2 separate regions of the Homo sapiens genome follow, and region 1 is linked to region 2. The links are contacts of gene promoters, found by promoter capture Hi-C in human tissues and cell types (Jung and others, 2019). All regions are on one chromosome and are shown on one strand. Each heading gives the region's core, a stretch centred on a gene start or on the middle of the fragment in contact. The rest is flanking DNA. Distances are from core to core; before and after follow the strand shown.

The links. Contacts are between HindIII fragments. The study calls those that stand out against the background at their distance.
Region 1: a contact is called between a fragment that was not itself captured here and the fragment with the promoter of ZNF559 in region 2, in 3 of the 25 tissues and cell types used here (aorta, pancreas and psoas muscle).

The regions. Positions count from the first base shown.
Region 1 is chr19:9,394,241-9,398,513 of GRCh38, forward strand. The region is part of intron 1 of LOC112268250 (a long non-coding RNA gene); the gene reads right to left. Among named protein-coding and RNA genes, the nearest start is that of ZNF177, 33 kb to the left of the region's middle. The HindIII fragment of the contact is 3,595 bases long and covers 1,031-4,273 here.
Region 2 is chr19:9,321,210-9,325,981 of GRCh38, forward strand. It overlaps ZNF559 (zinc finger protein 559), which reads left to right and starts at 2,970. Exons shown (of 7, transcript NM_032497.3): 1 at 2,970-3,019; 2 at 3,486-3,571. ZNF559-ZNF177 (ZNF559-ZNF177 readthrough) reads left to right here and starts at 2,970. Exons shown (of 13, transcript NM_001384659.1): 1 at 2,970-3,019; 2 at 3,486-3,571. RefSeq lists an enhancer at 2,814-3,063 and a silencer at 3,234-3,373. The HindIII fragment of the contact is 8,356 bases long and covers 1-4,772 here.

The DNA of each region.
Region 1 (4,273 bases), core at 1,578-4,077, 73 kb after region 2:
CTTGAACCCAGGAGCCGGGGAGGTTGCAGTGAGCCGAGATCATGCCATTGCACTCCAGCCTGGGCAACAAGAGCGAAACTCTGTCTCAAAAAAAAAAAAAAAAAAAAAAATTGGCAACTATTATAATAATAATTAATCCAGACAAGAATCATTACTGGTGGATGAGTTTCTAAGAGGAAAAAGATATTTACATAGTCTTAACACATTGCCCCCTAAAAGCATTTAAGTATAACCTACTTTTAATTAATGCAGTTTTGCAACTTTTCAGTCTAAAGAAAAACAAAAAATTAAATTAAAAAAATTAATGCACAGTGGAGAAACTTGCCAGACACTATCTTAACCAAGAGATAACAGCTTACACCACTATTAGAAATAATGGGGAGTGGCCAGGCGCTGTGGCTCACACCTGTACTCCTAGCACTTTGGGAGGCTGAGGAGGGAGGATTACTTGAGGTCAGGAGTTCGAGACCAGCCTGGCCAACATGGTGAAACCCTGTCTCTACAAAAATACAAAAATTAGCCGGGTGTGGTGGTGTGTGCCTGTAATCCCAGCTGCTCAGGAGGCTGAGGCAAGAGAATCGCTTGAACCCAGGAAGCGGAGGTTGCAGTGAGCCGAGATCACGCACCACTGCACTCCAGCCTGGGTGACAGAGCAAGACTCTGTCTAAAAACAAAAAGAAAAGAAATAATGGGGAGTCTTTGGTGGTTTGTGTTGTGGGTCTTTATGATCAGTGATGAGGTCTATTCATCTCTACTGTGAGACCACAGGGGTCAGTGGGGTTAGTGAGTGATATGGTTTGGCTGTGTCCCCACCCAAATCTCACCTTGAATGGTAATAATCCCCACATGTCAAGGGTGGGGCCAGGTGGAGATAACTGAATTACAGGCAGTTTCCCCCATACTGTTCTTGCGGTAGTGAGTAAGTCAAGATATGATGGACTTATAAAGGGAAGTCCCCCTCCACAAGATCTCTTGCCTACTGCCAGGACATTGCTCCTCAGTCGCCTTCTGCCATGATTGTAAGGCCTCCTCAGCCATGTGGAACTGTGAGTCAATTAAACCTCTTTCCTTTGTATATTACCCAGTCTCAGGTATGTCTTTATTAGCAGCATGAAAACACATCAATACAGTGAGGATTTGTGAGGTTAGTGATGAAGGTCTGTAGGGACAGTGATTAGGAGTCTCTGGGGTCAGTAACATGTACACTGTGGGGTTAGTGATAGAGATTCCTTAGGAGCAGTAATAGGGATTATACAGAGATCAATGGAGGAATCTCTGGTGCTATGTTGCAGCTCTGTGGGGTCGGTGATATATATGAAGCGGGGTCAGGGATGTGCAGTCTGAAATCAATGGTGTGGCTATGTGGGGGTCAGCGATGTGATCCCAAGGGGGCTTGGTGGAGATTCAGATGGTCAGTCATACTGGGGAACTGTGGAGTCATTGATGGAAGGTCCGTGGGATTGCTCATTGGGAATTTAGAGGTAAGTACTGTGGCGCCCATAGAATATTTACCAGGGATGGAAAGTGCATTAGTTAAGGTCAGTGATGGGGGTTGAGGATTGGTGATGGGGTGTAGGTGTGTAATATGCCAGTGGTCAATAGGTTAGATGACGAGGGCTATAAGGAATGCTATTCATTGTCTATAAGAAACCCACTTTAATTAAACAGACACATATAGATTAAAAGATGAATGAAGAAAGATATACCATGCTAATGACAATCAAAAGAAAGCAGGAGTAGCTATATTAATTTCAGACAGAGCAGACTTCAACTTTTTTAAATTACAGATGTGGGGTCTTGCTACATTGCCCAGGCTGGTGTCAAACTCCTAGCCTCAAGCGATCCTCCACCTCAGCATCCCAAAGTTCTGCATTACAGATGTGAGACCCTGTGCCTGGACCAGAGCACACGTCATATCAAGGAAAGTTATCTGGGATAAAGAGGGGCATAACTTAAAGAGACCAATATTCCAAGAAGTCATAACAATCCTTAATGTGTGTACACATGACAGAGCATCAAAATGAGGTAAAAGCTAGTAGAACTGCATGGAGAAATAGATAAAACCACTATTATAGCTGGAGATTTAAATACCCCTTTATCGCCAGGCACAGTGGCACACTTTGGGAGGCCGAGGCGGTTAGATCACGAGGTCAGGAGTTTGACACCAGCCTGGTCAATATGGTGAAACCTCGTCTCTACTAAATATGTAAAAATTAGCCAAGTGTGGTGGTGCACACCTATAGTCCCAGCTACTTGGGAGGCCGAGGCAGGAGAATCGCTTGAACCCAGGAGGCAAAGGGTGCAGTGAACTGAGATCACGCCATGGCACTCCAGCCCAGGTGACAGTGCAAGACTCCATCTCAAAAAAAAAAAAAAAAATGAAAAAATAAATTAATTAAAAATAAATACCCCTCTATCACAAATGGACAGATCCAGCAGGGAGAAAATCAGTAAGAATGTAGTAAAACTCAACAGCATTATCAATCAACTGGATATAATTAACATATATAGATTACTTCATCCAAAACCAGCAGATTATACATTCTTCTCAAGCTCACATAGAATATTCATCAAGACAGGCCACACTGCGGGTCATGAAACACCTCTTAACAAATATGAAAGAACTGAAATCATACAATGTATGCTCTCAGATCACAACAGAATTAAACTGGAAACTAATCAAAGACAGCTAAAAAAATCTCAAAATACTTGAAGATCAAACAGCACACTTCTAAATAAATAGGTCAAACAAGAAATCTCAAAAAAAGTTTAAAAAATTTGCACTGACAACAGATACAACTTAACAAGATTTGTGGGGTGCAACAAAAGCAGTTCTTCGGGGGAAATTTATAACACTGAATGGTTAGAAAAGAAAAAAGATCTGTGCCAATCATCTAAGCTTCCACCTTAGGAAACTAAAAAAAAAAAAAAAAAGCAAATTAAATCCAAAGTAAGCAGAAGAAAAGAAATAATAAAAATTCAAGGCCAGACATGGTGGCTTATGCCTGTAATCTCAGCACTTTTGGAGGCCAGTGTGGGAGGATCACTTGAGGGCCAGGAGTTTTGAGACCAGCCTGGGCAACACAGCTAGACTCCATTTCTACAAAAATTTTAAAAGCCAGGCATGGTGGCACATGCCTGTACTCCCCTCTATTTGGGTGACTGAGGTGGAAGCATCCCTTGAGTCCAGGAGTTTGAGGCTGCAGTGAGCCATGATCATGCCACTGCACTCCTGCCTGGACAACAAAGCAAGACACTGTCTCAAACAAAAAACCTCAAGCAAAAGTCAGTGAAATTGAAAACAGAAAATAGAGTAAAATCAACAATACCAAAAGCTGGTTCTTTGAAAGGATGAATAAAATAAACCTCTCATCAGGCTAACAAAGAAACAACAGAGAAGACACAAATTACTAATAGCAGAAATTAAGAAGGGACATCACTACAGATCTCATAAATATGAAATGGGGGGCGGAGCCAAGATGTCCAAATAGGAACAGCTCCAGTCTACAGCTCCCAGCATGAGTGATGCAGAAGACGGGTGATTTCTGCATTTCCAACTTAGGTACCGGGTTCATCTCACTGGGGAGTGTCAGAAAGTGGGTGCAGCGCACCGAGCGTGAGCTGAAGCAGGGCGAGGCATCACCTCACCTGGGAAGCGCAAGGGGTCAGGGAATTCCCTTTCCTAGTCAAAGAAAGGGGTGAGAGACAGCACCTGGAAAATCGGGTCACTCCCACCCTAATACTGCACTTTTCAAATGGTCTTAGCAAACGGCACACCAGGAGATTACATCCCACGCCTGGCTCGGAGGGTCCTACGCCCATAGAGCCTTGCTCATTGCTAGCACAACAGTCTGAGATCAAACGGCAAAGTGGCAGTGAGGCTGGGGGAGGGGCGCCCGCCATTGCTGAGGCTTGAGCAGGTAAACAAAGTGGCTGGAAAGCTTGAACTGGGTGGAGCCCACCGCAGCTCAAGGATGCATGCCTGCCTCTGTAGACTCCACCTCTGCGGGCAGGGCACAGCCAAACAAAAGGCAGCAGAATCCTCTGCAGACTTAAATGTCCCTGTCTGCAGCTTTGAAGAGAGCAGTGGTTCTCTCAGCATGCAGCTGGAGATCTGAGAATGAACAGACTGCCTCCTCAAGTGGGTCCCTGACCCCTGAGTAGCCTAACTGGGAGGCATCCCCCAGTAGGGGGAGACTGACACCTCACATGGCTGGGTACTCCTCTGAGACAAAACTTCCAGAGGAACATTTGCTGTTCACCAATATCCACT
Region 2 (4,772 bases), core at 1,720-4,219:
AATGTTAGTGAGAGGTGACAGTGTGCTGGCAGTCCTCACAGCCCTCGCTCGCTCTCGGCGCCTCCTCTGCCTGGGCTCCCACTTTGGCGGCACTTAAGGAGCCCTTTAGCCCACCGCTGCACTGTGGGAGCCCCTTTCTGGGCTGGCCAAGGCTGGATCCGGCTCCCCCAGCTTCACGGAGGTGTGGAGGGAGAGGCACTAGCGGGAACCAGGCTGCGCACGGTGCTTGCGGGCCAGCTGGAGTTCCGGGTGGGCGTGGGCTTGGCAGGCCTGCACTCGGAGCAGCCAGCCGTCCCTGCCCCGGGCAATGAGGGTCTTAGCACCCGGGCCAATGGCTGCGGAGGGTGTGCTGGGTGCCCCAGCAGGGCCAGCCCACTGGCGCTGAGCTCGATTTCTTGCGAGGCCTTAGCTGCCTTCCCGTGGGGCAGGGCTCGGGACCCGCAGCCTGCCATGCCTGAGCCTTCCCCGCCACCACGCCCTCCTCCCCCCCGCCCTCCTCTCCCCCCCGCCCTCCTCCCCCCTGCCACCCTCCTCCCCCACTCCTCCTCCCCTCCTCCCCCCGCCCTCCTCCCCCCCACCCTCCTCCCCACCCCCCTCCCCACCCCCACCCTCCTCTCCCCCTGCCCTACCCCCCGCTCCTTCCCCCTCCTACCCCCTCCTCCCCCGCCTCCTCCTCCGTGGGCTCCTGTGCAGCCGGAGCCTCCCCGACAAGTGCCGCCCCCTGCTCCACGGCACCCAATCCCGTCGACCACCCAAGGGCTGAGGAGTGCGGGCGCATGGCGCGGGACTGGCAGGCAGCTCCACCTGCAGCCCCAGTGCAAGATCCACTGGGTGAAGCCAGCTGGGCTCCTGAGTCTAGTGGGAACTTGGAGAACCTTTATGTCTAGCTAAAGTATTGTAAATACACCAATTGGCACTCTGTATCTAGCTCAAGGTTTGTAAACACACCAATCAGCACCCTGTGTCTAGCTCAGGGTTTGTGAATGCACCAATCAACACTCTGTATCTAGCTACTCTGGTGGGGACTTGGAGAACCTTTGTGTCGACACTCTGTAGCTAGCTAATCTAGTGGGGATGTGGAGAACCTTTGTGTCTAGCTCAGGGATTGTAAAGGCACCAATCAGCGCCCTGTCAAAACAGACCACTTGACTCTACCAGTCAGCAGGATGTGGGTGGGGCCACATAAGAGAATAAAAGCAGGCTGCCCCAGCCAGCAGTGGTAACCCGCTTTGATCCCCTTCCACGCCGTGGAAGCTTTGTTGTTTCACTCTTTGCAATAACTCTTGCTACTGCTCACTCTTTGGGTCCACACTGCTTTTATGAGCTGTAACACTCACCGCGAAGGTCTGCAGCTTCACTCCTGAAGCCAGCGAGACCACGAGCCCACCGGGAGAAATGAACAACTCCAGACGCGCCGCTTTAAGAGCTCTAACACTCACCGCGAAGGTCTGCAGCTTCACTCCTGAGCCAGCAAGACCACGAACCCACCAGAAGGAAGAAACTCCGAGCACATCCGAACATCAGAAGGAACAAACTCCAGACGTGCCACCTTAAGATCTGTAACACTCACCACGAGGGTCCCCGGCTTCATTCTTGGAGTCGGTGAGACCAAGAACCCACCAATTCCGGACACATTAGTACAGGTCTTTGAATAAATTTTGCTTCTAACAGAAGTTACTATTTATTCCTAATTAGATGGGCAGGAAAGTCTTTGAAGAGGAACCTCTACTTTACTTTTTACTGTAGAGAGAGTAGTCTTTGATCTTGGGGAGATGGGGTTTTTCCTTTTGGTTTAGCTTCAGGAAGTTTGTGTTAATTGGCCTTAGGTGCCCTGCCCCCAGCCCCAGGTGTTTTTCCTTTGATTTAACTTTAGGAAATTATCACGAATTGGCCTTAGATTCCCCGACCCCAGATCTTGGTGTTTTCACTTTTAGGAAGTCCGCATGAATCTTATCTATGCTCTTAACTACGTCCTAATTTTTGTGTTTTTTGTCTTTTTTATAGGAATAGGGTTTTGCCATATTGCCCAGGCTGGTCTCGAACTCCTGAGCTCAAGTGGTCTGCCTGCCTCAGCCTCCCAAAGTGCTGGGATCACTGGCGTGAGCCATCAGGCCCAGCCTCTATGTGCTAATTTTTGAACAAATTCCAATAGGAGCATTCTAGTCTCTGAGTGTGAGATGACCAAAAATCAAGCCCTTGTGAGGCTGAATAGAGTCGGGAGGCAGGGAACTTAAGGCTGTTTCAGGCCGACTTCCTAGAACTAAATTGAAAGGAAAACCCTCACTTTCCTCGCCTAAATAACAAAAGGACCAGAGGCTACTCCCTTTGACCTTTTCTGCTGGCAGATAGGAAATTGGCTGTCTGCAACAAATCAGACTGATGGCCGGTTGAGTCTTCATTTGCATAGAAGTGTAACTTTGTAACGTCGTAACTTCACCCTAGCCTTTGATTGGTTGCTTTTTGCAACCAATCAGATGTTTGCACAGGAGTGTGACCTTTGTAACTTCAGACTCTGGTTGGCTGCTTTCTGCAACCAATCAGACTGAACGCGGGCTACCGCTTCATTTACAGGAGGTGAGCATGAAGTGGCCAATGGGAAAATTCTAGGAGGTATTGGGACTCATGAAGGTTCTGTTTCGGAGCCCTTGAGCTGCCGCTTGGCCAGTTCCCACACTGTGGAGTATGCTTTCGTTTTCAACAAATCCCAGCTCTTGTTCTTTTGTTGCTTCATTCTTTCTTTGCTTTGCTGGGCGTTTTGTCTAATTCTTTGTTCAAAACGCCAGTAACCTGGACAGCTTGCAGTCAAGACCCCCTACCGGTGACACTTGCGCTCTTCGGGGAGGTAAACAGCATTTCCTCTCAGCTCTGGGTTGGAAAAAGCCGCAGCAGCTGATGGGCCCGGGAACCCGAGGCCCCGCCCCCTAGGTGGTCCTAGCCTTTGCGCGTGCGCGGCGTGTCTGCGTGGGCGCATGCGCATAACGGCCGCCATCTTAACAGCGCGTTCCCGTTGGCGTCTGAGGTAAGTTTTTGTTTCTGGGCGGCGTTCGGTGGTGTCCCGGTGCAGCCACGCGAGAGTAGAAGGGTGGAAAGGGGAGGTGCCCAGTGAAATGGAGCCTGTCCCGTGCACTTTCGGGCATTTCGAGCATCTTGTGGGCTCTCCCAAGTCGCGGCCCCTCCTCTGAGAGCCACAGTCAGGTCTGTCCTCAGGGGTCGAGGCGGCTGCGCTGGGGCCTCGGCCCGGGAGGAGGCGGGGGGCACGGCCTTTCCATTTTCCCTGCTCCCCTCTGCAGAAGCCTCATAGGGCCCGGCGCGGCGGCTCACGCCTGTCATTCCCAGCGCTTTGGGCGGATTGGGTAGGAGGATTACTTGAGGCCAGGAGTTCAAGACCAGGCAGGGCAACATAGGGAGACCCCCCCCCCCAACCATCTCTAATGGAAAAAAAAAAAAAAGTCTCCACATCCAGCGTTGTGCCTTTTCTCTATAAGGAACAGCATCTCTGCCTTCCTGTTCACGGTGACCTTCGCTTGGTGTCCTCCTGGCCTCAGCAACCTGACAATTCTGTCGTGTCCCGGTGAGCACTTCATGCACTTGTTCTGGCTGTGGGTGTCGGGTCTTGAAGTTTAAGTTGTGTCGAGGTGGAAAGAAACCTTTTCAGGTGGTTGTTCGAGAGCACATGGATCTGATACCATCGAATGCATGAGTGGATGAATGCACATAACTGTAAAATTTACCACCAAGGAAAAACACAGGACTACTCAACTGTGGTTCCAGGCCATCACCTAGATCTCACTCTAGCGCCCTGTAGATTCCCCCAGAGGTTCAAAACGAGGGCATCCCCAGGAACACGGTGCGGGCTGATTTACTAGCAGGAGGGATTGAATTGATAATGAATGCGAAGATAACTTTTGACAGGTGGGTTTTCTACCAGTTACTCATTTGAAAGTCTTACTGAGGGCGGGGCAAGGTGGCTCACACCTGTAATCCCAGCGTTTTGGGAGGCTGAGGCTGGAGGATCGCTTGAGCCCAGGAATTTGATGCCAACCTGGAAAAAATAGGGCAAGCCTCTGTCTCTACTAAAAATAAAAAATTAGCTGGGCATGGTGGTGTCTGTGGTCCCATCCACTTTGGAGGCCGAGATGCGAGGATCACTTGAGCATGGGAGGTCGAGGCTGCTGTGAGCCATTATTGTGTCACTGCATTCCAGCTTAGGCAACAGAGTGAGACCCTGTTTCAAAAAGAAGAAAAAAAAACAAATACTGATCTAGAGAACATCTGTAGCTCGAGTAAAACAAATGTCTTTAGTCCAGGTGTGGTGGCTCACGCCTGTAATCCCAGCATGTTGGGAGGCTGAGGCTGGCGGATCACGAGGTCAGGAGTTTGAGACCAGCCTGGCCAACATAGTGAAACCCCGTCTTTACTCAAAATACAAAAAATTAGCCGGGCGTGGGCACCTGTAATCCCAGCTACTCAGGAGCCTGAGGCAGGAGAATCGCTTGAACCTGGGAGGCAGAGGTTGCAGTGAGCCAAGATTGCACCCTTGCATTCCAGCCTGGGCAACAGTGCGAGACTCCGTCTCCAAAAAAAAAAAAAAAAGTCTTTAACCCTTAACTACATTCACTAGTTGTTAAGATTTGTTTCATTTTTTTGTATATGTACTTTATCATGAGCCATTTAAATTGGAAGTGAATGAACTTTCCCCTTTTAAGCGTGTATCTCAAATACCTCCTGAAAGTGAAGACAAGCTTAAAACAAGACTTCATTGTCCATCCCCA